Regions from separate parts of the Homo sapiens genome. Here all the other regions are linked to region 1. Evidence: promoter capture Hi-C in 16 types of primary human blood cells and fetal thymus (Javierre and others, 2016). All regions are on one chromosome and are shown on one strand. Each heading gives the region's core, a stretch centred on a gene start or on the middle of the fragment in contact. The rest is flanking DNA. Distances are from core to core; before and after follow the strand shown. Region 1 holds the start of KIF26B (kinesin family member 26B). Region 2 overlaps SMYD3 (SET and MYND domain containing 3). Region 3 overlaps SMYD3 (SET and MYND domain containing 3). Region 4 overlaps SMYD3 (SET and MYND domain containing 3). Region 5 overlaps SMYD3 (SET and MYND domain containing 3).

Region 1 (5,659 bases), core at 1,595-4,094:
AAACTTGACATTTTCACTGAAAGACAACAGATTGTTTCAAGTAAAATTGATGAAATTGTTTTGTGGATTTTATAATGCATGTAGATGTAAAATATATCAAATTAGTAGCACAAAGGAGGAAGGTAAGATGGAGAGGTTGCAAGTCTACATTTTAGGTGAAGCGGCACAATGTTAATTCTAAGTAGCCTATGAAATGTTAAAGATTCATATTATAGGCCAGGTATGGTGGTTTCATGCCATAATCCCAGCACTTTGGAAGGCGGAGGCGGGAAGACAGCTTGAGCTCAGGAGTTTGAGACCAGCCTGGGCAACACAGGGAAACCTTGTCTCTACTTAAAAAAAAAAAAAATTAGCCAGGTGTGGTGGTGTGCACCTGTAGTCCCAGCTACTAGGGAGGCTGAGGAGAGAGGATCATTTGAGCCTGGGAGATGGAGGCTGCCGTGTGCCATAATAGCGCCACTGCACTCTAGCCCAGGCAACAGAGTGAGCCCCTGCCTCAAAAAAAAAATCCATATTATAATCATCAGAGCTAAAAAGTCAACAGAGAGATGAAACTGGAATACTGAAAAGTTATTCAATTAACAAAAAAAGGCATGAGAGACAGAAGAATGAAAGAGAGTAGAGATAGAAAACAGACCCATACTAGCAACAACATGAAACTCAAAAACCTGTGTTAAGTGAAAAAAGCCAAACCCAAAAGAGTACATGCTGTACGGATTCTATGAATTAAAAACCCTTCCAGATCAGTCCACACTAACCCATGCTGATAGAAATCAGAACAGTAGTTTCTTATGAGAGGTGGGGATTGCCTGGGAAAAGGTAGATAACCTTCAAGAGGGACAGGAATTTATAGATGTTGATCGAGGTGGTGGCCTACGCAGAGTACACGTTTGTCAAAATTCATAGAACTTAACAATTAAAATGTGTGCGTTTCATCTTATGTATATACATTTTACATAAACATCAATTTTTGAAAGCTTCTTAAAAACTCTTGCAGAGCCTCCGGTTATAAACTTTAATCAACAGAGGGCGCTCGGAGCCCACCAAACACGCTTTGGGCCCCCAGCTACTTAGAAATGCAAATCAGAGCAGCTCTGGGCTCCCCCGTCTCCGAGGTGGATCGCGCAGCTCCCCAACACTCCCCCTCGACACCCCACCTTCCCCACCCGCGGCCTCGCCGGCTCGTTTCACCACACGCTGCTTTTTGGCTGATAAGCGGCTCGTGGCCAATGGCGATGATGTGTTTCGCGGCACCTACGCGAAATACAGATGCGGGTGGGAGCTGGCGCGTGCTGCCTGGAGGTGTACCTGCCCCCTAAGGTCCCCTATTGATAGGATCGCTTTTAAATTGGAAGTGGGAACGTAACGGAAACGTCCACTCTGTTCTTGCCATCTTCCTTTTGACCTTTTTACCTCGCTTTGGTGGCTGTGAAATATTCCCGCGCAGGAGCTGGAGCGGGGAGGAGTGGGGCAGAGCACGGGAGGCACAGAAGAAATTGTCCCCGAGGAAGGCAGAGTGGGGGCGTGGCCCCAGGCTTCCAGAACCCCGAACCTTTGTCTTCTTGCCCCCTCCTGCGTCGTCCACAGCTCAGAAGGAAGTCAGCGACCAGAAAGCCCTGAACGTCCTTCGCGCCCTCGCCCACCCCCGGGCTGGGTCTCCCCGCGGGCGCGGAGATGCCGTTACACCCCACGTGATCCCTGCGCCCGGCCAGTCCTTCCAGAGGCGTCTCGCGGGGTGTTAATTAAAGGTCACAACAAAACAGACCTGCTGGCTCACCAGAAGAAATGTCCTCCCGTGAAATGAAAAATGACACCCCAGAGCAGCCACGTGTGGAGCCTGGCATACGCCGGCTTCCTGCGCTCCTGGGCGCTGCGCCGGGGGACTGGGGCGGGGGGCGATCGGAGAGGGAGCGATGACGGGGTGCTCCGGAGACCCCGCGGGGCCCAGGCGCAGGAAGAAACGGGCGGCGGGGGGCGAGGGGCCCGATCCCACGCAAGGAGAGGCCAAGGCCAGCTCGCGCCACACCCCCTCTCCAGGCCAGAGTCGTCCGCGTGCAGCGCGGCGAAGCCCTCAGTTTCCCCTGCCCGGCAGCGGCCCGCTGGGTCACCAGGCTCACCTGTCCCAGCCCCGGGCGGCTTAGTCCATCACAGACCGGGGCTCGGGCGGGCGGGGGACCAAGGGCCCTAGTCCTGCGGCTGCGGTCGGGGAGGGTGGCCCCCCGGCCGGCCCGGGGTCGGTAGGGCAATTCCAGAAAAGGTTTGCCCGGCAGCTCTCCGAGAACAAAGGGCGGGGGGAGGACCCGGCATGTTTGTGGACTTGTTTGTGACTCAATCCCTTTTGCACGGCGTTTCACAGACAGACCTGCAAGCCTTGTCAGGAAGAGAAAGAACTTGGGGGCGGGGGAGGCTGGGGCACCGCATTTCCGTCCAGCCACGCTCGCTCGCGCGGCCCCCGGGCTCCAGGCTCGCGCAGCGGCGTTTCATTAGAGCCCCGGGCCCGGGCCGCGCGCCAGGAACTTCCCCGCACGCGGCGAGATCGACGATCCCCCGCCCCCAGCCCCAGCCCGGCTCCAGGCCTCGCAATGTCAGGCACGAGCGCCGCCACATAAAATGGATCCCGGCCGGCGCGGCGAGGGCGGCAGGTTCCCGAGGCTCCTCCGCGCTGCGCCCGGGCGCACACGCGCGCTGTGACCGCCGACCGCTCCCGGGCCACGCGGAGCCGCCCCTCTCCCGGCCCTCGCGCAACTGTCAGGCGAAACGGGCCGGCGGATATTGGCTCGGCGACACGCCGAGGCTCCTCCCCGAGTCTGGATCTTTATATTTTGGGAGAATTTCTTTGAACTCAGTTACCAAGCTCGGTGAAGGAGACAAGTTCCCACAGCTGACTCGGCTCGGCTCTCCCACCTTCCCGGCAGCGGCCGCGAGCCCTGATTGTATCCCTCGCTTTCCTCGTGGGGGAGCACGGACTGACTTGGCTGAAGAAAATGCCAGTTCTGTGGATGTGGCCGTGACAAGAGGACGTGCGGCTGGAAGAGGCAGAAGGGGACGAGGAAAAGCATGCTTTGAAGAGAAGAATAAACCAGCGACCCCAACCCTTTCTGCAAATTGGTGCTATTACTTGTGGGATCCATTTGCTTTCATTCCCTCCCACCCCACCGCTGAAGAAACCTTGCCCTGAGGGCTGAGAGCCAGCCCCCTGCAGCCGGGGGACGCTTCTGGGTTGGAGGACCTTCTGGATGTAGCGTCGGTGGAACCTTTAGATACTCTCCTCTGGAAAAGCCACCATGAATTCGGTAGCTGGGAATAAAGAGAGGCTTGCGGTCTCCACCAGGGGCAAGAAATACGGGGTAAGTTGTGACGGTACGACGCGGAGACGCGTTACCAGACCCATCTCGGCGGAGGTCCCCCTTTCCCCGGGATCGTGCGGCCCCGGCCCCGAGCTCTCCCCCGCTGCAGAGGCGCCCCCGGGGCTGGCGGGGTTGTGAGTGCGCGGAGGCGGGTCGGCCGCGGGGACGCCCGCACGCTCGCCTCGCTCTCGGAATTTTTTCAGCCCTCTCGTTCCTTCCTTTCCACGCACCCGTAACTTTTGCCGCATTCCTGCACTTCTAGGCAGAGTGAAGCCGAAGGGGAGGGTTTCCCATGAATGCTGGGCAGTACCTCGGATCGTTTAGCTGGAGCCGTGAGAGCCTCTCGTTTACCTGCAGGATCCGGAGAGTTGGACCCCGTATGAATAAAAATCCTGAAATCACAGCCCTCCCCCTACCCCCCCCATAGGGTCTTCCAGGATTTTGTTCCCGGGATCTTGCTGGGATAGGTGCCGGCTTCAAAAGCGTGGGGCGCTGAACCTATGGATCCCCCCCGCCTTGCAGAAGCCGTGGAAACGGCCCCGAGCGAGTCCCCTTCCTGACCCCAGGAGGAGGCCACCGGGGACCAGCGCAGGGGTCACCTGGGCGGTGGGGACTCACTTAAGGACAATTAACGAGACAGACGGAGGGCAATTTGGCCGCAGGGCTTGGAGAGGTCCCCAACCGACTCCCGTGGGCGGTTCGAGCGGGTACTTGGTGGCGCACGTATGACCCAGCTCCTGGGCGCTGCAGCCCGCCGCCTTGCAGCCCCTGACACCGGCGTGTCTTCCCCGCAGGTGAATGAAGTCTGCTCGCCCACCAAGCCCGCAGCGCCCTTCTCCCCGGAAAGCTGGTACCGGAAAGCATACGAGGAGTCGCGCGCCGGCAGCCGGCCCACTCCTGAGGGCGCGGGCTCAGCGCTCGGCTCCTCGGGGACCCCGTCTCCCGGCTCGGGCACCTCGTCCCCGAGCTCGTTCACCGGCTCCCCGGGACCCGCCTCCCCCGGCATCGGCACTAGTTCGCCGGGCTCCTTGGGCGGCTCTCCGGGCTTCGGCACAGGCTCCCCGGGCTCCGGCAGCGGCGGCGGCTCCTCCCCCGGCTCGGACCGCGGCGTCTGGTGCGAGAACTGCAACGCCCGCCTGGTGGAGCTCAAGAGGCAGGCCCTGAGGTTGCTCCTCCCGGGGCCCTTCCCGGGCAAGGTGAGCGCCGCGCGGGGCTGGCTGGGGAGGCGCCGGGAGGGCGGGGCCGGGCCGCCACCCACAGCAGCTGCTCAGCCCGCCGCGACCTTGCGCGCCGGCTCCACGCGAGAGCCCCCGGCGGCGCTGGGGATGCTCCACACCTCACGGGGCTCTAGCACGCGGGGCGACCCATGCCCCTTCCTCAGCCAGGCCGCCCGGGGGGCAGGAGGACCGAGTCCCGAGCGCGAAGGGGCGCCCGTGGCCACAGGCCTCACGGCCCACGGGGGAGGCCCCCAGGTGGTCTCTCCTGCCGCCCCCTCCCAGCTCTCCCTGGCGGCTGCAGGCTGCGCTTTCGATGTTTCTCCCCACCCCCACCTGTGATCCTTTACAAAAATGTCAGCGGGAGCTGTAAAAGCAAGCTGATGCTCGGAGCTGGCATTTCCCACTGCCTGTTTGTGGTCCATCCTTTCCGCGGTTGCAGAAACAGAAACATACTCGAAAGCCAGCATTTTCCCCTTCTCAGTCTGTGTGTGTGTCTGAGGAAGATCCGGAGGCGGGTGGCTCTTCGGAGCAGTGCTCCCTCCTGGCCTGCTCCTGCGCCAAGCACACTGGTTCCTCCATAGCAACCCTGCCCGCAGTGTGTGACTGGCCCGAGCCCCCAGGGGATAGCAATGCGATTGTATTTGCACTGTTGGGTCCAAGTACTATCAAATGATCATATTTACTCGGCCACTTCAAAGAGTTTTTATCAGTGGTTAGAGAGCAATATCAAGGAAATAGAGTGGATTGCTGTAGAGGTTTTTGACACTGTTGGTTCAACGTCAATTTCTGGTTTATTATTTCCGTGACTTTAGAAATGAAATACTGTGATTTCGAGTAGGCGTTTAGGAATGACTGCGTCTGCTGGCCCAACCTGCGTATGCAGATACACACGTTGATGTTTTCATAGGCAAGGGTTAAATTCAACAAATGCCCACAGACGCTGTGAAACTTAAAATGGGGGAAATGACCACCAGGAGAATTGGTTTTATGAATGCAGAACTTATCTCAAGAATAATGAACTCGTGGATGGTTGTCAGTGTACCGTTTTTGTAGTTTGATACATCTGCCGTGACATCCCAAGGATACATCTCAAGG
Region 2 (5,669 bases), core at 311-2,810, 1.1 Mb after region 1:
TGTGGCCAAAGTTTCTCTGACATCATTCTGCTGCTTGTTTATTCTTCCATGCTCTCCTATTGTTACAGAGGGCAACTAATTTTAAAAAGTATTTGACAGTATTAAGCAATAACTTTGTGCCGATTTTCTTTTTCACAGAACAGAATTAAATTTGAGTGCAGATGTGAGTAGATATAGAAGAGTGTATGATATTTTTGTGTGTGTGTTTTCTTTGTAGAGTCCAAAAGCCCTGTGGATTGTTAGTGAAGCTCAGGCAGAATAAAGCAAATAGAAGAACAAGGCAACTGAAGTCTAACGATATGGTGGATAAGAATCCGATTTTAAATCTTGACATTGCTTGAGAATGGGAATAATGTGTTACTTATTTTTCGCACTATGACTAACAATTATTAAACATCTAATATGTACCAAACACAGTTCTGGACATATTCCCATATCTTAACTCGTTTAATCTTGACAACAATCCTTCTGAGGTAGGTTTTATTACCCTTCATTTCAGATGAGGAAATAAACTCACAGACATTACTAATTTGGGTGACTCAGACAGACACAGTTTCCATTTTGTTCTTCCTTTCAGTTAACATATATTTCTTATGGACTTTCTGCTTGTTCCAGGCACTATGCTTGGCACAGCGTCTACCATTTCTCTTTCTACTAAACCATATAGCCGGTCTCTGACACCTAGCACAGTACCTAGGTCATATTAGGTTCTCAATGAAGATTCACTGAATTATTTGGTTAATTTACTTGTCTCTATAAAATAAACATTTACATAGAAATTTGGGTCCAGGTTTATATTATCTTAAAACATCTTGTAATTCAACACTGTTAAAACATGTATTTTAAAAATAGTTTTTCAAAAGAGAAAATATTTCATTGATTATAGACATCTAGGAAACCCAAGTCAGGTGGCAAATACCTGCACTGAAAACTAACAGAATCATGGAAAGGAAGCCTGACACAGCATGATGCACATTCTCTCAACTTTGTATGTAAATAAATCCTACATTCTTTAATTGTCTCAAGAATGCGTGATTTGAATACCTAATTCTATTACAAATATCACATGGGAATGGTCTTCCAATGTTGGTACATGTACTCAAGGCACAATGCATAGTGTTGACCAAAAAGCAAAAGCTTACCATGAAAAAAGGTAAGTAATGGATGGATTACTTTGTAGTCAGACATGGATAAGGTTGAATGTTAGCTCTGCCATTTACTAGCTACCTTATTTTGAGGGAAGTTATTTCACTTTTCTGAGGCTGTTTCTGTACTATAAAATACAGATAATTCTAACAGCATCTACTGTGCACTCAGAGATTATGGTGAGGACTAAATGACAGGATGTATGTGACCTGGGCACATACCCAGGTCAGAGTTAGGGCTCATTAACAGTTAGCTGTATATTGAAGTAGAAAAGTTAGGGAGGCTGGGAAATAAATTTTCTGGTAGGCATGAGGTGGAGCAGACTACATAATGATCACCTTCTTTTTACTGTCTAACCTTTAAAGCTCCTTAGTATGCAGGAAAATGCCTGCTCCTGAATGAGCTGATCTTCATACCAGCGTATTTATCTTTCCTAATTCAAAAACAGCCTCCTTAAAACACAAACATACTTTTTCATACTGTCATTCAAAATAGCTGCTTATGATATAACTTAATAGTAAAAATGGGAAAATTACTGATTTCTTTTTGTACAATTCTATGTACCTTCAACAAATTATGCCTTTTCATTTTCAAAGGATAATACCAATTCCTTCCAAAGGCATGATCAAACCTAAATAGTGGTTAATTTGAACATTTCTTTTAAGTCCCAGAAGAAGAAATTACGTTAACCACTTCTTCATATCTTAAGTGAAAAATGTGTAAGACAGTAACTGTCTTAAATAATTACATTTCTGCTTATTAGGTGTAATTAATATTTTATCCCCAAATTAAGCCAAAATAATTCCTTAGATATAAGATGCCTACACAACCAACAAATCAAGCTTTTAATTTCTGAGTTCTAGCCAAAAGGCCATATTGCCTAAGAAGAGCAGAAATAAATGTTTTTTTTTTTGTTGCCTTTTTAAAAACTTTGTAACCTACATATAAATAGAAGGAAACTCAGATTTCGAATACAGACTTCTGAGGGAAATCAAATGAATACAAAATTTATTGTATACTAAGCAGTAACTCTTGTTTATTCTATCACTTGGGACTGTATATTCTTTTTAAATTAGTATATCAATTGTTCTGAATATAATAATTCAATACAGTCATCTTCCTAAGGGTCCATTTTAAGCATCATTCAAAGCAAGTAGTAGTAAAAAGGAACAAAGCATAAGCCACAGCAGTGCTAAAAATATGGTAATTGATTAAAACAAAAACAATTAGCTGGGTGCAATGGCTCATACCTATAATCCCAGCATTTTGGGAAGCCAAGGTAGGAGGATGGCTTCAGCCCAGAAGTTCACGACCAGCCTGGGCAAGATGGTGAGACCCTGCATCTTAGAACTGATGAAAGACGGTAACTTTTCTATATTTTTTCAATATGATTTTATTCTCACACATCAACAACATTCTAAGATGTCTTACAAAGAATAGCTTTTGTAATCCCATGGCCTCTAATGCAATACAGTGCTTTATACACATTCTATGGGAATTGCAGGTACCATCTCCATAGCCTAAGAGTATGCAATCTGAACCAAATCCTTTTCTGTCCACATCTTGAAGTGCTTCTTAAATTCCTAAGATCTAACTAGTTACTTCTCTATTACCTGTTAGTGGCTCTGCTATAGAAGAAAAGGTGAAAGTAAATATCTACAAAGAAAGACAGTGGGGATAGTGACAACAATAATAACCACTATTTACTAAGTGCTATGTTCTAAACACTTTACATGGACTTTGTTACTTAATGTTTGCAATTCTATGATGCATACAGAATCAGTCTTATTACGAGATGAACAAATTTAGTTTCCAACTGATAATTGTGAAGAAATAAAAAACTACAGGAGAGTGATTTTTAAATCAAAGGTGCATATGAAGAGAAGCATGCTAATGAAATAATCCTGCTAGCTTTTCTTTTTTGATTTTGTAAAATATTAATTGCTCTTGCACTGTTCTTTATTGACAATGGATCAGACTGAAGCTTCTGGTCAGTGTATCTTTATTATTTTTCGAGACAGGGTCTTTCTCTGTTGACCAGGCTGGAGTACCAGGGTGTGAGCATAGCTCACTGTAACCTCAAACACCTGGGCTCAAGTGATCCCACCTCAGCCTCCCAAGTAGCTAGGATGTGGGAGTATGCCAACATACCCAGCTAATTTTTGTATTTTTTTTTTTTGTAATAGACAGGGTCTCACTTTCTTGTCCATGCTTGTCTTGAACTCCTGACCTCAAGCAAACCTCCCTCCTTGGCCTCTCAAAGTGCTAGGATTATAGGCATGAGCCACTATATCCAGTTCTGCTTCGTTTTTTTTGTTGTTGTTGTTTGTTTGTCTTAAGAAAAAATTCTCATTTTGTGAAGTGTGAGCCAGGAGAAAGAGACAAGAGGCTGACTCCAGAAAAACTGCAGTCTTCATTCTTAAAAAGCACATCTTTCAGGGATGATAGCTATTGGGATATTCACATGTCAGCAGCTCTCAGTATAAACAAAACAACAATAAAAAGTCAGAAAATCAGCAAGAGGAATAAACATGTCAGAAATATTGTGGGATCCAGTGACCATCACATGTCTTAATAATGAGCTCATCATCCAGCCTGTATGAGCCTTCTCCTGTGAGAGCATCTTTTTGAACCAACGGATCAACAGAAAATACTCCCGCAGTGCTTGCTTTTTAAAGTAGGATTATATGAAAGTAACTGAGAATTACTCCCATCTCCTTATATTGACAATCTTCCAGTTAATGAGAAGATGGATTTTCTCCTCAAGCTATTGGGTTTGAGAATCTTCTGTTCTGTGTTAGCTAATCTCTCATGAATGTTTTTAACACTGAAGGTCCTTGTATTTGCTATTACAAAAAAGCAGGTGCAACTGAGTTCCTTCCTTAGAATTTTGAGCTCGCAATCATTTGTTCAAGATCCCACTAATCTTTTTAGTTCTTGTTTGCTGAACACCTGATTTTAAAAGGGAACCCCACAAATCCCCTTTAACCACTCTTCCATTTGAGTCCATCCTTCATAGTCATCTACTAAACATTTTGTTTACAATGTATCAAAGGTTATGATTCCTAGGAAGTTTGGCTTTCTTTTTTTGTAAAAAACAGGGAAAGAACTCTATTGGGAATGTCATGCCCTGTCCATCCATCCCATCTTTTTTTAATCGGGCAACTTTATATTCATCCTACCAGGACCAACTCTAATGTCCAAACTGCGTGACAGAATTAACAGTTCCTTCCTCTGTATTCCTAAAGTATTTTGTTCACATTATTATTATTAGAGTATTAATATATTGAGTATAGAATGTTTTGGTATGCCGATAGTGAAGTCTTATTCATCTTTATATGTTCCAACGGTACCTGGTACAGAGTAGTTACTCAGTAAAAGTATGTTGAATAATTTTATTAACGTGATTCCAAATCCCTAAGTGATAATCTTATTTAAGGAAAATACTATAACACTGAATACTCTCTGAATAGTCTCTGAAACAGTAATGAGAAATACAAAAATCAGCTGGGCATGGTGGTGCACACCTGTAATCCCAGCTGCTAGGGAGGCTGAGGCAGGAGAATTGCTTAACTGGGACCCGGGAGGTGGAGGTTGCAGTGAGCCGAGATTGCACCAGTGCACTCCAGCCGAAAGAAAGACAGAAAGAAAGAGAGAAAGAGAGAGAGAGAAGAGAAAGATAGAGAGAGAAAGAAAGTAATGACAGAGAAAATACTTTTTCGAGTAAAACCTCAGAAAAGAATATGATCCCAAGTAAAAAAAAAAGTAAACTGCGAAAATAATATTTTTTTCCTTTTCTTATTCATTTTCCACAGCTTCTTAATTCTCTTCCATTAAATCTTATTGAGGCAATTTTATTTATGGATAGTTATATCTAGTTTTATAAGCCTGGCAAATATCTTGCCCCAAAGTTACAGAATATGTATCTAGTACTGGATAATGCAAAATTCACTTTGAAACTTTTTATTAGAATATTTGCTTGCCTAATTAAAGATGGAATAGAGCAATATTATAATAAATGTGCATAGCCTGAATACAAAGGAGCTAAGAGATAACGGAATACATACATACTTGGCCAAAGAAGACAGACCACAATTATAAATATAGCCTAGATATATACAAAGCAAATGGTCATGCATTAACATATTAATTGAAGGTGATGAACTGAAGTTTTATCAATTAAGAAAACACTGCAAGCTATATTCTGGGCCCAATTTTAAAAGTAGAAAAAAAATGGTATTATTTTATGGTTTATGTTATTTATGTTTATTTTATGTTATTTGATTATTCCCAGTCCATAGGCACATCCTTAAAATTTCATATGAACACTTTGGGGAAACATTTTAAAGTTTTCATTTGAACTTACTCCTCGTCCTCAAATGCCAGCAAACTGTTCCTGGTATATAGAAAACAGATCTTATCTAAGAATTCACCGTTTACATGTGAAAGCCTTTGCTTAGAATTCCTCCTCCTCTCCTGTCTGCCTGTTGAAATCCTGTCATTCTTTAAGGGTCAGACATTGT
Region 3 (4,959 bases), core at 121-2,620, 1.1 Mb after region 1:
AGCTGATTTAACAACTGTAAAAAGCTAAATTCACAGAAAAATAACTCGTATTAATTATTGAATTCACTTTTCAGAAGCACTGATTCACCGAAAGTGATGGCAGACTCAGAAGCTTCTGAAGGAACACAGTTGAGTTCCCTAAACATTTCATTAGTGGGCATTACCAGGGAACACAATTCTATGCCAAACGTATAAGGCAGGTTTTAGGACTTCAGATTACCTAAAATGAACATAATAATGAGTAGTCACTTCTATAAAGATACTGGATATTGGATATAAAAATTAAATATGTGTTATTTGACACACCTATTCTCTATGAATAGGCTGTACCACACATAAAACATCAGAAAATCTGAATTCTTGTGTGTAGGTCATTCATATGTTTACTCCTGTCTTTTAAATTCATCTTTATCACCATCAGATCCTCATTACTTATTGTCTGGATGCAGGTTTCTCTTTTACTTACACTGCCTCTCCTTCCACGTTTTCATCGTTATCAGTGGCCCATGTTAGTAGGTTAATCTTAGTTTGTGAGCCTGAAGATCTCTTAGCGCTCCAAGATGGAACTGGTACGTGTCATCTTATTTCCATCTAAATACAGCATAAGGAGTGAAAAAGGTCAATGGACTGGGAGTTACTAAATAAAGGTGATGTGGAAAACAAATCATAACATAGGAGTATAAGCTAAAGGAAAGGGCCATTATGGTAATATCTATCAAGGACACTTACAAACAGTAAAAGACAAAAGGACATACAAAGAAACGTACAACTTAACTAAAACAGAAAAGAAAAAAGAAAAGCTCTGAAGTCTACAAAATTATAACAACGATGGGATATGAATCATGTTTTTTCAATTCTAAGTGGAAGGAAGAAAAATAAATCACATGTGCCTGGTAGGGGAGAATTTGCTTAAGAAAGTTTTCTCATTTTAGATTTGCTTTTGGGGTAGATGGTACTTTTTCACTATATTCTTCAATCTCAAGTTTTCACAGGAATCACATTAATAAGAGACAGGGACTGGACAATAACCTGGGGAGCAGTAAATTTGGGGGTTATTCTTTTGCATTAATTGGTCTAGTTAACCAAGATGTGCAAACTGCCAGAGTAGAAGTAAATCTACATTCTCAAAATTTTTTTAAAAATGAAGAGTGACAAGGAAGAATATGCCTCATTCTAGCAAAGTCATATCTGAAGAGAGAGCTGGGAAAATAGGTGAGATTTGAAATTTGTGTCTATATGATGTAAGACAATTTTAGAATGATAGTTATTATCTCATAGGCTAAATCAAAGCACAGCTGTCTCTCTGCATGCACATTTTGATTCTGCAACAGAGGTCCTGCAAGAGCCATCATAATGCCAGCAAATTAAATAAGGAGAGTTTGAAAGGCCCAGTCATTGTGAACAAGACTGAGGCTATTTCATTCACTTCACGTGGTGAAGTGCATTACGAGGAGCTGATATGACTGTAAAATGTATGGAGACACTATTAAGCTGAAAGGAATCTAGACATGTGGATAGTTCCCTACTCACTAACACTTCATGATAATAGAGTTAAATATTCTGAATAGTTCACTTCTAAGGGATTAATACACTTCCCCAGTACTCAAAATCATGTCTGCCTTTCAACTTATTTGAAAGGTTCAGTAATAACTCCTCAAATACTCACTGCTTGTCATATTCTAAATACTGAATTCTTAGATGCAAACACGCAGCTCCTATTAGGGCTAACGGAAGCTACATGTTTGTACCAAGGGAAAAACATACGTCTAGAAAACTGTTCTCTGCTGCTCATAGGCAATCACGTTGCATGTCCTCTCGTGGACGGTATAAAAATGCGTGACTATTTACGCAGAACCATTCAGGTGTTACAGGCACTTCCATAGCATCCAAGAATGCATTAGCCAAAACCAACTAAAGTAGTTTTTGGGCTCATGATCATTCAAGCTGAATCAATAATATTAAACAGCATGTGGAATGGGGGAAAACCAAGTGTAAAGCAACATTAAAACCTCTTTCCACTCAAGCATAATTCATTTTGATCTTTACTACTGGATTCAGCTAAAGGTCAAATAATATATGATGATTTAGATTCAGAAAATATATTATTTCGCTGTTGAGTATAGTCTGAAATGAGGGCAACTAATTTAAAAATGGAATCAATTTTAAAAATATAAATGTAATAAAAATGTCTCCATCACAGAATATACAAATTAAGTCCCACTATTGATTACTGCCAACATTTTAAGCCTCCCTACTCATATTGGTAATGTCTTTAGTGCAACTTAATTTTCTTCATATTGTGTCATACACATTCAATGAACATCATTCCAGTGAGGGACCAAGAACGAGGTCAGAAATGGCTGTGATGATAAATTACAGACCTTAATAACTTCTGAACAATTTGAAATGTAAAAGCCATCTATAAGTCATTCAGCTTGATAGATGAATGGTTAATGAATTATACAAACTAATAAAAACCATTAATTATTTATCTGTACTACAAAATGGCATAAGGCCAAGATCTTAAACATGGTCTGCATTAAGACCAAAACTGGGATTCAGGGTATATATAACAAGAGGGGGAAAAAAAGAGTTATCTATTAGAAGACTGTATAAGCAAAAATCACTTAAGCTTTATAAGCATAGAAGATTTTATTAAAGGACTGGTCAGATTCATAACTGACAGACCACTGAAATATTATCAGCATTGGGGTAAAAAAAAAAAAAGGTAACTGGTTGATTTAGATGTTTCCTTGTTCTTTTGCTTTTTGTTTTCAGTGAAAGGCAGTTTGAAATTTCCGTCTTAGTGGTTTGTACTGCAGAACACTGAGATCAAGACTTGGGTACTTTTGTATACTTGCATTTCTTGCTCTTGCATGAGTCCCAAGCAGTGATGGGGGGCTACCCCTCCCCACTAAGGAATAATCACATTCCAGTTTCTGGAAAGAACTCAAATTAGTCTGACTCTAGTGAATCAAGAGCAAGTCCAAGATGGAAACACAGGAGAGGCAACCTGGGAGGGAACAGACTGAACAGGTAAAACTACAGTTAGTAGCCTCCCCGTTCATGAATTACAACTGACAAATGACATCTTATCTGGTAACTCTGTCAAATCTTCACTAATTCTTCGACTTCAGTATTTCTCAAGAATGGCTCTTCTACTACCAATATCAGAATCACCTAGAGAGCCTGTTTAAAATGCATATTCCTAAGTTACTTTCCAGACCTCAGGTAACAGGACATATTCCAGAGGTCTGGAAATAGGTAACAGACCTCACCAAGTGTGGGGCTGAGAAAGCTTTTAATGATCTGCCCAGGATATTCCAATGTGCCCTAAAGTTTGAGAGTCACAGTCCTAAGAGGATGCTCTCCATTACACCACCCTGCAGCAATGGTGCCTACCATCACACGCATAGTGCACATGTCAGCAACGTAAGAGATGCCAAGCTCTTAAGTGTAACAGGGTGCCTTGAATATTCCCTAAATATGTGAGAACATAGGCATGACTGGATGGATAAATGCATGAAGGAGAAAACTAACAGTACTTCTGATATAAAATAGGAATTCTGATTCCTTTAGAATTGGCTCTACAGCACTTTGGGAGGCCGAGGTGGGTGGTTCACCTGAGGTCAGGAGTTCAAGACCAGCCTCACCAACATGGCGAAACCCCGTCTCTACTAAAAATGCAAAAATTAGCTGGGCGTGGTTGCGGGCACCTGTAATCTCAGCTACTCAGGAGGCTGAGGCAGGAGAATCACTTGAACCCGGGAAGCGGAGGTTGCAGTGAGCCGACATTGTGCCACTGCACTCCAGCCTGGGCAACAAGGGCGAAACTAAAAAAAAAAAAACAAAAACAAAAAAAACAGAATTGGCTCTACAAATCCATTCGCAGCTCTCCAAAAATCCCCAAGGTGCTCCAAATTTCTCACAGTCTATATATTTGACCGTACGATCTTAACTTCTCAGGTATTGATCAGAGAAAGTCGAGAGGAAGGAGGAAATGCAGGGCTTCAATTCTGATTTCGCAGAAACATGAGTGCTGCACTGCTTTCGGCCCCGCATGGTGTGCTGGCAGACACCACCACTGTCCCAGGCGCGTCTGCTGTGAAAGCCGTTGCTTAGCAACAGCAATCAATGCTGTATTTCCTCTTCACCATTTTCCTGAAGATTGAGACACTGCTCCAAGGTATCATTTTCAAATACCTTCTGTTTCACTGACCAAACATGTTTGTTAATTTTTCTATTATAGGAAAAAAAAATCATGAACCAAATTGGTCTAAGAATCCAGGAAAGAGGAGTGAGGGAAGGTCAGTATAACACCAGTGCTTTGGGATTTGTTTGATGAAGAAAAATTCTTTGACAGCTCATTGACTTTATTTGCTATACCGTTTCATTCTGCCATTTTAGCATTGATTTCTGCTACCTCATGGGATATGAAAGTCGTTAGCATGAATTATCATTCTAAATGCAGATCCACAAGGTACTGCCATAAAACACAAAAAGCAAATGATTTTCAGAGACTGGTTGAATACACATCTCACATCTCTGTTAAAGCTCTTGTCTTGGTCATGTTCTTATTAACCAATAACAACAAAATGTTAAAAAAAAATAAACATCTCTCCACTGATACCACAATATATAATTCTTTCAGATGGGCAATGTTTCTACTAAATTAATTGTACCTGTGATGAAAGCATATAGACAATACCAATATTTACCTTAGGAAAAAGGCAGAGAAAGTACACAAGAGGGAGACAAATAAAAGGGGGAAGAGGTAGTAATTTTTATCAATATGTCCTACCAATGAATAGATTCTTCATATAAAACCAAAAATGAGACTTGGGAACTTTACATGACATCTTCCAATAAAGAAACTTGATACTTGCTTGAAGTATATACGTGCAGATATGTTAGTAAGTGGTGGAATCCAACAAGGTGGATATTGTGTGATATTTATTT
Region 4 (5,547 bases), core at 1,586-4,085, 1.1 Mb after region 1:
CCACCTGTAGGCCCAGCTACTCAAAAGGCTGAGATGGAAGGATCGCTTGATCCCAGGAGGTCGGGGCTGCAGTGAGCTGTGGGCCAAGGTGGCGTCACTGTGCTGCAGCCTAGGCAACAGGGCAAGACCCTGTCTCAAAAAAATTAATAATAATTTTAAAAAATAAAATTATTTGTTCCAAAAAAAAAAAGCTGCATGTATTTTTCTTTTCTTTTGCTTACCTATCATTATTTTTCCACATCTCTTTTCTTGGTACTTCAGACAGATGAAGATAAATGAAGCACAGTAGTTAACTTCTTTGTTTGGATACAAAAAATCTTCTGTATCAACAATATTGTTATGCAAGCACTTTAAATGTTGCTTCTAGCAGATGAGACTTCTGCTTCAACATATGTTATGGGGAAAAATGATAAAAATTTATTCATGACTAGAATAACTGAACAGTCAACAAAATCTAACTAGAAAATGTAATAAATCAACCTGGTTTGTTGCAGTTGTTAATTATCTAAAGTAAACTGAAGATCCAGTCTCTCACTCCAAACAAGAATAAATAATCCCAGATTCTCAGCACTGTCAATACTTTCTATATCATCCTACCACTGCTGCAAACTTCTTCCTTCAGAGTGATCGGAATTTAACTTCCTCTGCCTGCACCTTCCCTGAGACAGGAAAAGCCACAAAAGAAATAAGGAGCTCTAAAGGTTCTTCTGCTCAACAATGGCACCTTAAAAATCTAAAACTTACTGAGGGAGCATGTAACCCCCCATAGAAAATAAAACAGTGGTCAAGCTTTTGGGATCTGGACTCAGGGTGGCTTGGGTTCACACCACAGTTCTACAAATGTAATCTTGGGCATGTCATCTACTTTCCTAAGCCAGAGATAATAACATTGCCAAGAGTGTAACAGTGAGTGATCATATGCACAGAGCTTAGCATTTTACCTGGAACCTATGTGTTTCATGAGCATGAGCTATTGCCATTATTACATCCCCTTTGCTACATCCCTCCCAAAGTCCTACCATCGACTCGCAATCTGAACAAAGAGAAAGGACCTCAAAATCCTTACTCTGGCTAAACTGGGCTTTAAATGTGTCAGATGTGTCCATCTTGCTTTCCTTCCTCACCACCCCTGCCTGCCAATAATCAGAGCCATGGAAAAGCTTCCCTTGCTCATGCATAAATAACGTCCTCATTCATATATACCTGTGTATGTTTAATTACAGTAACTAGAGGTCTCAAAATAACTCATATGGTTCTAATTTCAAATATTTAAAGCTCTTAATGACACTTGCTTCTGTGAGACCAGAAGAAATATAATTGCCACAGCGATAACATCTAAAGCCCAAGATCATTTCTCCCAGAACTTATAGCACTCACAGAAATCGACCAGGATCTGCTTGCAGTATCTTTTAGAATTTCTGTCTCCCACTGACACAACCGAGTCATAAACAAAAACTGCAGCACTTGCCAGCTTTCACAGCCCATGACAACTGTGAGTTACACACAACCTTCAGGTACACCATTCACCCTAATAACTGATTTCAAAATAACAAAAGGAAGTCAAGCATTTAAATGTAGCACATTAATATTTGACTAAAATAGCATATCAACCAGTAGAAAAATCAAACAAGGTAAATTACTCATGAAAGAAGAACTACATGAATTTCTCAGAAACGAAGTCTTGCTGGAGAGGTACATGCCATGTCACTTGCAACCAAAAGTACTTCCTCAGAGCCAATATCAAAAGCACCGGTGAGTATGCTGCAAAACGGCATAGCAGGCTGTCAGATGCTGCATATCAGCTACTTGAGCAGTTAGATTAAGCTTTCCCAACAGGCAAGTGCTGCAGTACTTCTGCATCTAGCATCTGGTAATGTGTTGCAAACGCAGAACAAAGAAAGCAGCAGGCTCCGAAATCTTTCAGCTTTCCTTTGACCATCTGCAGCACTTAAACACTTCAGGGTTACCAGGTCAGCAACGTGAATTCTCTCAATACCATGAAACATGAGCAAAATTTCCATTCTCTGAGGTTTCTAATTCTTTTCTTTTTCTTTTTTTTTTTTTTGAGACGGAGTCTCACTCTTTCGCCCAGACCAGACTGCAGTGGCTTGATCTCGGCTCACTGCAAGCTCCGCCTCCTGGGTTCACGCCATTCTCCTGCCTCAGCCTCCTGAGTAGCTGGGACTACAGGCACCCGCCACCACACCCGGCTAATTTTTTGTATTTTTAGTAGAGACGGGGTTTCACCATGTTAGCCAAGATGGTCTCGATCTCCTGACCTCGTGATCCGCCCACCTCAGCCTCCCAAAGTGCTGGGATTACAGGCATGAGCCACCGCGCCCAGCCTCTAATTCTTTTATTTTTCTTTACTTTTTCTGATTGTATTGAGATAATCAAATGATTTTTCTCCTTAAGGGAGTATGGTAAATTGTATTAATAGGTTTCTAATGTGAAACCAGCCTTACATTATTGGAAGAAAACACAATCTGGTCATGTTGCTTTTAAATTATTTGCTGGATTCAGGTTGCTAATATTTTATTTAGGATTTTAAAAACTCATGTTTACTAGTGATATTGACTAGTAACTGCCTTTCCTTTTTTTTTTTTATTTCCATAGGTTTTTGGGGAACAGGTGGTATTTGGTTACATGAGTAAGTTCTTTAGCGGTGATTTGCGAGATTTTGATGCACCCATCACCCGAGCAATATACACTGAACCGAATTTGTGGTCTTTTATCCCTCACCTCCCTCCACCCTGTCCCCCAGGTCCCCAAAGTCCATTGTATTATTCTTATGCCTTTGCACCCTCATAGCTTAGCTCTCACTTATGAGTGAGAACACACAATGTTTGGTTTTCCATTCCTCAGTTACTTCACTTAGAACAACAGTCTCCAGTTGCATCCAGGTTGCTGCAAATGCCATTAATTCATTCCTTTCTATGGCTGAGTAATATTCCATCATGTATATATACCACAATTTCTTTATCCACTCATTGACTGATGGGCATTTGGGCTGGTTCCATATTTTTGCAATTGTGAACTCTGCTGGTACAAACATGCGAGTGCAAGCCACATGCAGGAGAATAACTGGATCCTCACCTCTCACCTTATACAAAAATCAACTCAAGATGGATTAAGGACTTAAATCTAAGACCTGAAACTATAAAAATGCTACAAAAAAAAAAATTGGAAAAACCCTTCTAGACACTGGCTTAGGCAAAGACTTCATGACCAAGAACCCAAAAGCAAATGCAACAAAAACAAAGATAAATAGATGGGACTTAATTAAATTAAAGAGTTTTGGCATGGCAAAAGGAACAGTCAGCAGAGTAAACAGACAACCCACAGAATGGGAGAAAATCTTCACAATCTATACATCCAACAAAGGACTAATATCCAGAATCTACAAGAAACTCAAACAAATTAGCAAGAAAAAAACAATCTCACCAAAAAGTGGGCTAAGGATACGAATAGACAATTCTCAAAAGAAGATATAAATGGCCAGCAAACATATGAAAAAATGCACAACCTCACTAATGATCAGGGAAACAAAAATCAAAATCACAATGCAATACCACCTTTCTCCCGCAAGAATGGCCATAACCAAAAAAATTTAAAAAAAATAGAAGTTGGCATGGATGCTGTGAAAAGGGAACACTTCTACACTGCTGGTGGGAATGTAAACCAGTACAACCACTATGGAAAACAGTGTGGAGATTCCTTAAAGAACTAAAGTAGAACTACCATCCAGCAATCCCACTACTCGGTATCTACCCAGAGGAAAAGAAGTCATTATATGAGAAAGACACTTGAGGTTTCTGATTCTAAAGTAAAACCTCCATCCCACAAAAAGCTTAATAAAGGATAATAACAAAACCTTGCTTTGCCAGCACTTTTGTTTAAATTTTTGTTTTTAAGTTCCAGGATACATGCGCAGGATGTGCAGATTTGTTACATAGGTAAACACAGCACTTTTTTTTTAATCTGACAAATCACAAATCACCACACAGCTCCCATCAATGCCTCTTAAAAACAAATATTTTCCACTGTCTTAGGGAAGTCCCAATTTCTTTAAAATTCATCATACAAATTATTTCCTCAAGTTTTCACTCAATGAAAATTCCTGAGTATAACACAAGACTGACATTAGTTCTGTACTCAAACTCTCAGAAAATTAGTGCTAGTTTTCTACAGACTCCCTGAAGGTCTTTTTAAAAATTTTTAGAAATTTGTATGTAGTAATGACTTGCCAATATAAATGTAATACAGAGACACTGTTTTTGTTCATCTTTGTATATCCACCTAGTATAGGGCATGGCACATACCAGACACTCAATATTTATTAACTAAAGAGTACGTAGGTCTGCTGCCTCTCAAATATTTGATAATCAGACTTTTGAATTCTAAATTTCAAGTGGAGAAATTTTCTCCATTGACCATCATTATAAAACTGTAGTGGTATATCTTTGGAAAATATATGACCTCAAGATATAATAAAAAAATCTTTTTTTTTGTTTTTTTTTTTGAGACAGTCTTGCTCTATCATCCATGTTGGAGTGCAGTGACGGAATCTCGGCTATTGCAACCTCCGCCCCCTAGGTTCAAGCAGTTCTCATGTCTCAGCCTCCCGAGTAGCTGGGATTACAGTTGTGCGCCACCAGGACCGGCTAATTTTTTGTATTTTTAGTAAAGACAGGGTTTCACCATGTTGGCCAGGCTGGTCTTGATCCCCTGGCATCAAATGATCCACTTGCCTCGGCCTCCCAAAGTGCAAGGATTATAGGCGTGAGCCACAGTGCCCAGCCTAAAATAACATTTTAAAAAACAACAATCATTTTAGAATTTCATGAATATCAATTGATCAGAAAACATTAGTGAAAGTCCAGAGTTGTTTTAAACTTAGAAAATATTTTCTAATATATATAGTTTTCGGAATAATAATTAGGTCAATGAGCTAAAGATTTCCTTTTACAGTTTCATTACAAATTTAAAAAGCTTTTGTAGTAAAAACCCATGAATGTAATCACTATTTAATAGTTTATGTTTTCTAAAAATGTGTTTGGCATTCCATCTGTTAAGTTAGGACTCCAGAAGAACTTACCGCTATGTCCAAACTGGGTTGGAGGGGGACAAGCTGGGTTTAAATTGCGTTTCTTTCACTTGCTAGGTGACCTTGGGCAAGTCATACTAAACCTCACTTTGCCTATTACCACATCTCTAAGATGGACATAGAAATACCAAGTTTTGGGAATACTATTCTTGAAGTATAGTAATTAGATTTGGGGGGGTTTTGTGTGGTTCCTTACACCTGACCCTGTCTCTGTTTTGGCCAGGGGCATCCATCTGCCTACGGGATATTCAGGTTTATGGAAACAGGAATACAAAGAGAAAGACTCAGTGTTCAATTATGACACCTATAAATCAATATTTTCAGTCAACAAGCAAAATTCTTGACAGCCAAGCTTTGTCAAGAGAAAATGTGCTTTCTAAATTCCTAAAACACTAATTTTTAAAATGAGGGCTGAAAACGGAATGAGAAGCTCACCTTGC
Region 5 (5,506 bases), core at 2,355-4,854, 1.2 Mb after region 1:
TGCAATGGGCAAAGATTGTGCCACTGCACTCCAGCATGGGTGACAGAGCAAGACTCCGTCTCAAAAAAAAATTCAGCGGGGTGTATCTTCAAACTTTGTGCCATTTTTTCCCTTGAAATAAAAAAAAAATTAGAAACTGGGACAGATATATTTTTCCTATTTGAATGCTCATGAATAAAACTATATTTTATACTCTAAAATTATAATACCTTAACAGCATGGTGGAACCACTAACAGATATGGCTTTTCAATGGATAGTCACTTTAGTACTTTAGTATAATACTTAAGAGATCACACAATACATAAAAATAAACCTCTATCTCCAATTTATTATGGTATAAGTATTACCAAAATTAAATTTGTACACCACTTTTAAGGTGTAATATTGTAAAACTCTGCACTACAAAGAATTAATTGAAGCAAACTCGCTCAGATAAGATCATTTTGACCTCTGTTCTTCACGCTAGACATTTTCATTACAGAACAAAACAGTCACAAGTTTACTAATCCTAAATGACTTGGCAAAGCCAATCCTAATGACAAGGATTTTGCCGAGTCATGTAGGATTTAAGTGACTCTGTGGTTCCTGGTGAGATACAGTACTTCAAAACACACTGGCTGATCCTCAGACCAATGACCTGACATCAAGTCAGATGGAAGTAACTTTGAGTTTCAAACATAGGGGAGGATGGGTTTTTCTTAAGAATGAAAAAAAAAACAACTCAGCTTTTCATTCAGAGCAATATATTCTGAGAAACAACTTATCATTTTGGTAAAAACAGGAGAAGCCTAATCACTCAGCTTCTACTCTGGAGTATAAAATAGTTTTCACACTTTTAGTCCACATGAAAAATAGCTCCGCTGAATTTCTAATTGCTGTATTTAGTGCTGAATTTGTCCTTTTATATATTGGCCACCTCCTTTTTGAAACTCTCTTCTTTTATAGATCTCAAACCACCTGAGATCCCAAATCCTGAGTCACCTTAAGTGGCTCTTTCTCTTCATGTCTTTCTAAAAATCCTTCTCAGTTTATTCTGAAAAGCAGAAAACAAAAAGCAAAATAAACAAACAAAGGCCTACAGCCACGTTTCCCATTTGAAGAACCCTGCTCTCATAAATTAGGGGATTCTTTTTTTTTTTTTTTTTTTTTTTTGAGACGGAGTCTCGCTCTGTCGCCCAGGCTGGAGTGCAGTGGCGTGATCTCGGCTCACTGCAAGCTCCGCCTCCCGGGTTCACGCCATTCTCCTGCCTCAGCCTCCCGAGTAGCTGGGACTACAGGCGCCCGCCACCACGCCCGGCTAATTTTTTGTATTTTTAGTAGAGACGGGGTTTCACCGTTTTAGCCGGGATGGTCTCGATCTCCTGACCTCATGATCCGCCCGCCTCGGCCTCCCAAAGTGCTGGGACTACAGGCGTGAGCCACCGCGCCCGGCCAAATTAGGGGATTCTTATCAGGAAGAGAAAGCAGCACGAGGAGGGCTCACAAAGGGAAGTGAGGCTCACTAGAACAGCCCCAGGCATAAATTGCAGGGGAAACCTGAAATCAACTGCTCCTAACCCAAAACAGGCACGTCCGTCAAGCATGAACCAGCAGCAAGAAGCTCCTTGGCATCCAGTCACAAGGATCTAATCTCAACTCCAGGTACCTCGGTAGCCTATTTGCAATGGTGACTGTTAAATTCTAGGAAGTCAGCACTGACTCTTCCACCTACAGTATCTTCCATTAAAGGCCAAATCAAATGATCTCCCCACTCCAAATCTCCATCTTAGGTCTCCGCATCACCATTATCGCAGTCTGCTGGAGAATACTGTGAGCACCTCCATGTACTGAACGTGGAAAGCAAGATTTACAAAAAGAAGGCAGCACAGTTTTGCTTTCAACGAATCTTCAATATAACTATATTTATTTATATATTTCTTTCATTTATCCTACCAGACAGGGCGGAAATGAAGTCTTAATTATCCTTATTTCTCCACATGGTGCTGTGAATAGAGTCAGTACAAATTTGTTGAACTGAAATTTATTAAACTGGTTCTTTCTGACCTAAAAGAGCCAAGTAAGAATCCCACTGCTTTGTTTTGGCCCTATTTGTCCACTTTTTCAATATGCCATAGAAATAAAAGGATGACAAGTCAAACCAATTTTCCCCCACTTCTTTACTGCAAACAAATAATACTAAATATTATAATAATATAATACTAAATATCACAGTGATATAGAGAATGAGGGAGAGAGTTTCGTCCCAGAAGAAGGCCCTCCTAGCCGACTACAACAGCAATCTCTAGAAAAACCCCCTACCAAACTGACAAATTCAAAACAGCAATACCATATGATACTTAAGAGGAAGAATGGTTCACATTTACAATTTATGATAGCACAAAGGCACTCCAGAATTTTATGTTCAGTGTACTGAATAGAAAGCAGCTGTTAGGCAAAGCATGATTAAATGACTTCAATATGGGAGAATTAATCACATTTTCTTATACTCGGGATTCTGCTGTCACTCAAAAATAAAGATGGAAAGGACTGTAAGGTCAGTATTTTTAAAAACAACATCAAAATGGGCACCTAAACTAGTATCCATCTAAAAAATGTAAAATGACTCACAGGCCTAAGATAGTAAGATTTTATTATCCATCTAAAAAATGTAAAATTACTTATGTGCCTAAGATAGTAAGATTTTATTATCCATCTAAAAAATGAAAATTACTTATGTGCCTAAGATACTAAGATTTTAAAAGCTTATTTGCACTAAAAGTTTTTAAGAAGCATCCGTTCTGTATTAATATAATTAGTAGAACATCAAAGGTGCCTCCAAAACCAATATGTATTTTTTAATTGTGAAAAAAAGTTTAATACTAGCAATACTAAAAAAAAGTTAAAAAAAGCTTAATTGTTAAAAAAAAGTTTAATTCTCATTTAATTTTCATTTCACAGACTAGGCTACAATTCTAGCAAAACAATGCATTTATCAAAATACATGATCACATTATGCCATGGATGGGAAAACAGAAATATAAAATACATGCAGACAAGAAAATAAAAGCAGGCACTTGGATTATCATACTCCTCCAGCCAGACGAAGGTATAGTGAACTAGAGAGTTCACCACAAACAGGAATAGAATAACCAAAAACTCCAATACATCAAACATGTCAGAACTGAATGGCTGCCTGAAAATGAATGCCCCTGAAAACACTATCCTTACTTCCTCTGTTTACCAGGTAGAAAGTTTGAGGATTCTATTTTGTTTCTCATACTCTGTGTCTACTGTGGTCAATCAAAAAAATCTACTGAAGTTACCGGGCTTTGAAATTACATTCAGAAAAAAGCAAGCTGGACTGTGGGATAGGTATTTATCAATGAAATGCTCCCAAGGACACTAATGAGGTTTTAGAAAAGAGGAAGCCACTTGCTGAGACATTGCCTTCACGGCCAAGAGTCTTTACTAGCCAATTCCATAGCACTCTTCCTATGAATTATAATTTAGAAAGGCAGATCCCACCCAATTCTAGAAATATAAGTTCAAATAGGCCCTAAGAATCTGGTGAACTCCATTTAAAAAATGATTTGTCTCTGCAAAAGAAAAAAGAAAAAGATTTAACTGACTGCAAATGAGCTTTACTTTATGGAATACCAGACACTACATGAGGAAATCTAGGTTTTTAAGACAGAGCAATGAGCTTGCCAAAATAAATCTTCTTCCACAAAAAGGTTCATAATAGAACCCTGTTAAACTCTAAATTTTCCTAGTTAATATAACCTGGTATATTATTTATAAACATTATAAGCAATGTTTTCAGGAAAAAAATTTGCTGTACAATACAGCACTGAATTCTATGTTTATCATTTTGCTATAAAGATAATTAGAAGTAATTAGTAACTTGGCAGCTCCAATGAACAAGACCTGCTTTTTTCAGAAACCATTAATCCTTTGATTCTTCATAGAGGACAAGAGAAATCGGAGGCAAGTCTACCTGAAAAGAGAGAATGACACGAATAGACTGGAAGAAAAGAGCTCCAAAATGTCTGGAGGTGAGACACTGACATTCATTTTCAGCAGCCATTCAATCCTGATGGACTGGAGCTTTTAGCTCTTCCCATTAGTGATGAAATGGCCAGCTTAAGATACTAGCACCTAACTGGAGGAGCAAAATAATGGAAGTTGCTGCCCTTTCTCTTACCCACTTATATTTTACACTTCTGCTTTCCCATTCCTGTCCTAATGGACATGTCTAAGAGAGTTGTGAAAGGTTTCCTAGAAAAGGCACCATGTTTAAACGAAATTTGCCAGGCAGAGCTGAAGAAACTGTACGAGCAAAGCTTGGAAGAAGAAAAGGAATCCTGAGTTTTAGGGGAAAGGACAAAGAGTAAGGCTTTTTTTTTTTTTTTTTTTTTTTTCTGAGAGGGAGTCTACCTCTGTCACCCAGGCTGGAGTGCAGTGGCGCGATCTTGGCTCACTGCAACCTCTGCCTCCCAAGTTCAAGCAATTCTCCTGTCTCAGTCTCCCGAGTAGCTGGGTCTACAGGCATGTGCCACCACGCCTGGCTGACTTTTGTATTTTTAGTAGAGACGGGGTTTCACCATGTTGGCCAGGCTGGTCTCGAACTCCTGACCTCGTGATCCACCCACCTCGGCCTCCCAAAGTGCTGGGATTACAGGCGTGACCCACCACACCTGGCCTAACAGTAAGGCTTTAAAGAGCCTACTCAACTAATACTGAAGACTGTTAGTAAATATGTGACCTATGGAATGATCACACTCTATAGAATGATCACACTGACTGAGAGCTCTATATTATTTTGTAATTGAAAACATGAGTTGTTTTCAAAAGAACTTTTAAATACCAAGATGATGCAAGTTTAAACCTTCCTTGTCATGGAGAAAATGCCCTTCCACTCCAATAAACTAAAAGATAATTTTTAACTATACAGAACATAATGTCTTGTTTCCACAAAATGCTAAATACTTTGCAAGATTCTCCTTGCTGACTCTGAGGTGGCAGAAAGTGACAAATATCATCCAAATCTTACTGATACAAGGAAAATATTTTCAGCACAAAAAAAATCTTTGTAGCATCATCATTGCTCTAAAGAAAAGCTAGAAGCCTGCCATAATGATTAGCAAACTCATATAGATATCTCCAGGAAAGGATTTACAAAATGTCATCACATCCTTGTAATCATCTAATTATCAAACTCAGCAGTGTTGACAAAGCACAAGCCCACTCAGCTACTGCTAATGATTATTATTCAAAGCTACATTTCTACCAAATCAGAATAACTTACAGGTAGAAGCTCATTAGCCTTAGGAACCACCCTCCTTGAACACTCACACGCACACGCACACGCGTGACACGCATACACACACGCGCACGCGCGCACACACACGCACACACACCCCAGCCATAACTAGGCCTTGCTGAATTGTCATTTGCTTTCATGACCCTCCTTCGTGTATATGAGCAGCTTTACGAATTGGTTCAAAAATACCCAGCCTTTCAAAA

The links. The method cuts DNA at HindIII sites, captures the fragments that hold promoters and counts their contacts. A CHiCAGO score of 5 or more calls a contact.
Region 2: a fragment that was not itself captured here is called in contact with the fragment with the promoter of KIF26B in region 1 in 6 of 17 cell types (endothelial precursors, M0 macrophages, M2 macrophages and 3 more); the score reaches 10.4 in endothelial precursors.
Region 3: a contact is called between a fragment that was not itself captured here and the fragment with the promoter of KIF26B in region 1, in 1 of 17 cell types (monocytes). The highest score is 6.3, in monocytes.
Region 4: a contact is called between a fragment that was not itself captured here and the fragment with the promoter of KIF26B in region 1, in 2 of 17 cell types (megakaryocytes and M2 macrophages). The highest score is 11.3, in megakaryocytes.
Region 5: a contact is called between a fragment that was not itself captured here and the fragment with the promoter of KIF26B in region 1, in 1 of 17 cell types (megakaryocytes). The highest score is 5.6, in megakaryocytes.

The regions. Positions count from the first base shown.
Region 1 is chr1:245,152,141-245,157,799 of GRCh38, forward strand. KIF26B (kinesin family member 26B) reads left to right here and starts at 2,845. Exons shown (of 15, transcript NM_018012.4): 1 at 2,845-3,347; 2 at 4,142-4,543. The coding sequence starts at 3,285. RefSeq lists enhancers at 981-1,656, 1,657-2,332 and silencers at 2,187-2,386, 4,254-4,793. The HindIII fragment of the contact is 4,692 bases long and covers 976-5,659 here.
Region 2 is chr1:246,261,994-246,267,662 of GRCh38, forward strand. The region is part of intron 5 of SMYD3 (SET and MYND domain containing 3); the gene reads right to left. Among named protein-coding and RNA genes, the nearest start is that of SMYD3-IT1, 58 kb to the right of the region's middle. The HindIII fragment of the contact is 851 bases long and covers 1,136-1,986 here.
Region 3 is chr1:246,206,869-246,211,827 of GRCh38, forward strand. All of the region lies in intron 5 of SMYD3 (SET and MYND domain containing 3), which reads right to left. Among named protein-coding and RNA genes, the nearest start is that of SMYD3-AS1, 100 kb to the left of the region's middle. The HindIII fragment of the contact is 2,520 bases long and covers 111-2,630 here.
Region 4 is chr1:246,282,370-246,287,916 of GRCh38, forward strand. All of the region lies in intron 5 of SMYD3 (SET and MYND domain containing 3), which reads right to left. Among named protein-coding and RNA genes, the nearest start is that of SMYD3-IT1, 37 kb to the right of the region's middle. The HindIII fragment of the contact is 2,026 bases long and covers 1,823-3,848 here.
Region 5 is chr1:246,306,285-246,311,790 of GRCh38, forward strand. All of the region lies in intron 5 of SMYD3 (SET and MYND domain containing 3), which reads right to left. Among named protein-coding and RNA genes, the nearest start is that of SMYD3-IT1, 13 kb to the right of the region's middle. RefSeq lists enhancers at 1-601, 1-1,764. The HindIII fragment of the contact is 1,434 bases long and covers 2,888-4,321 here.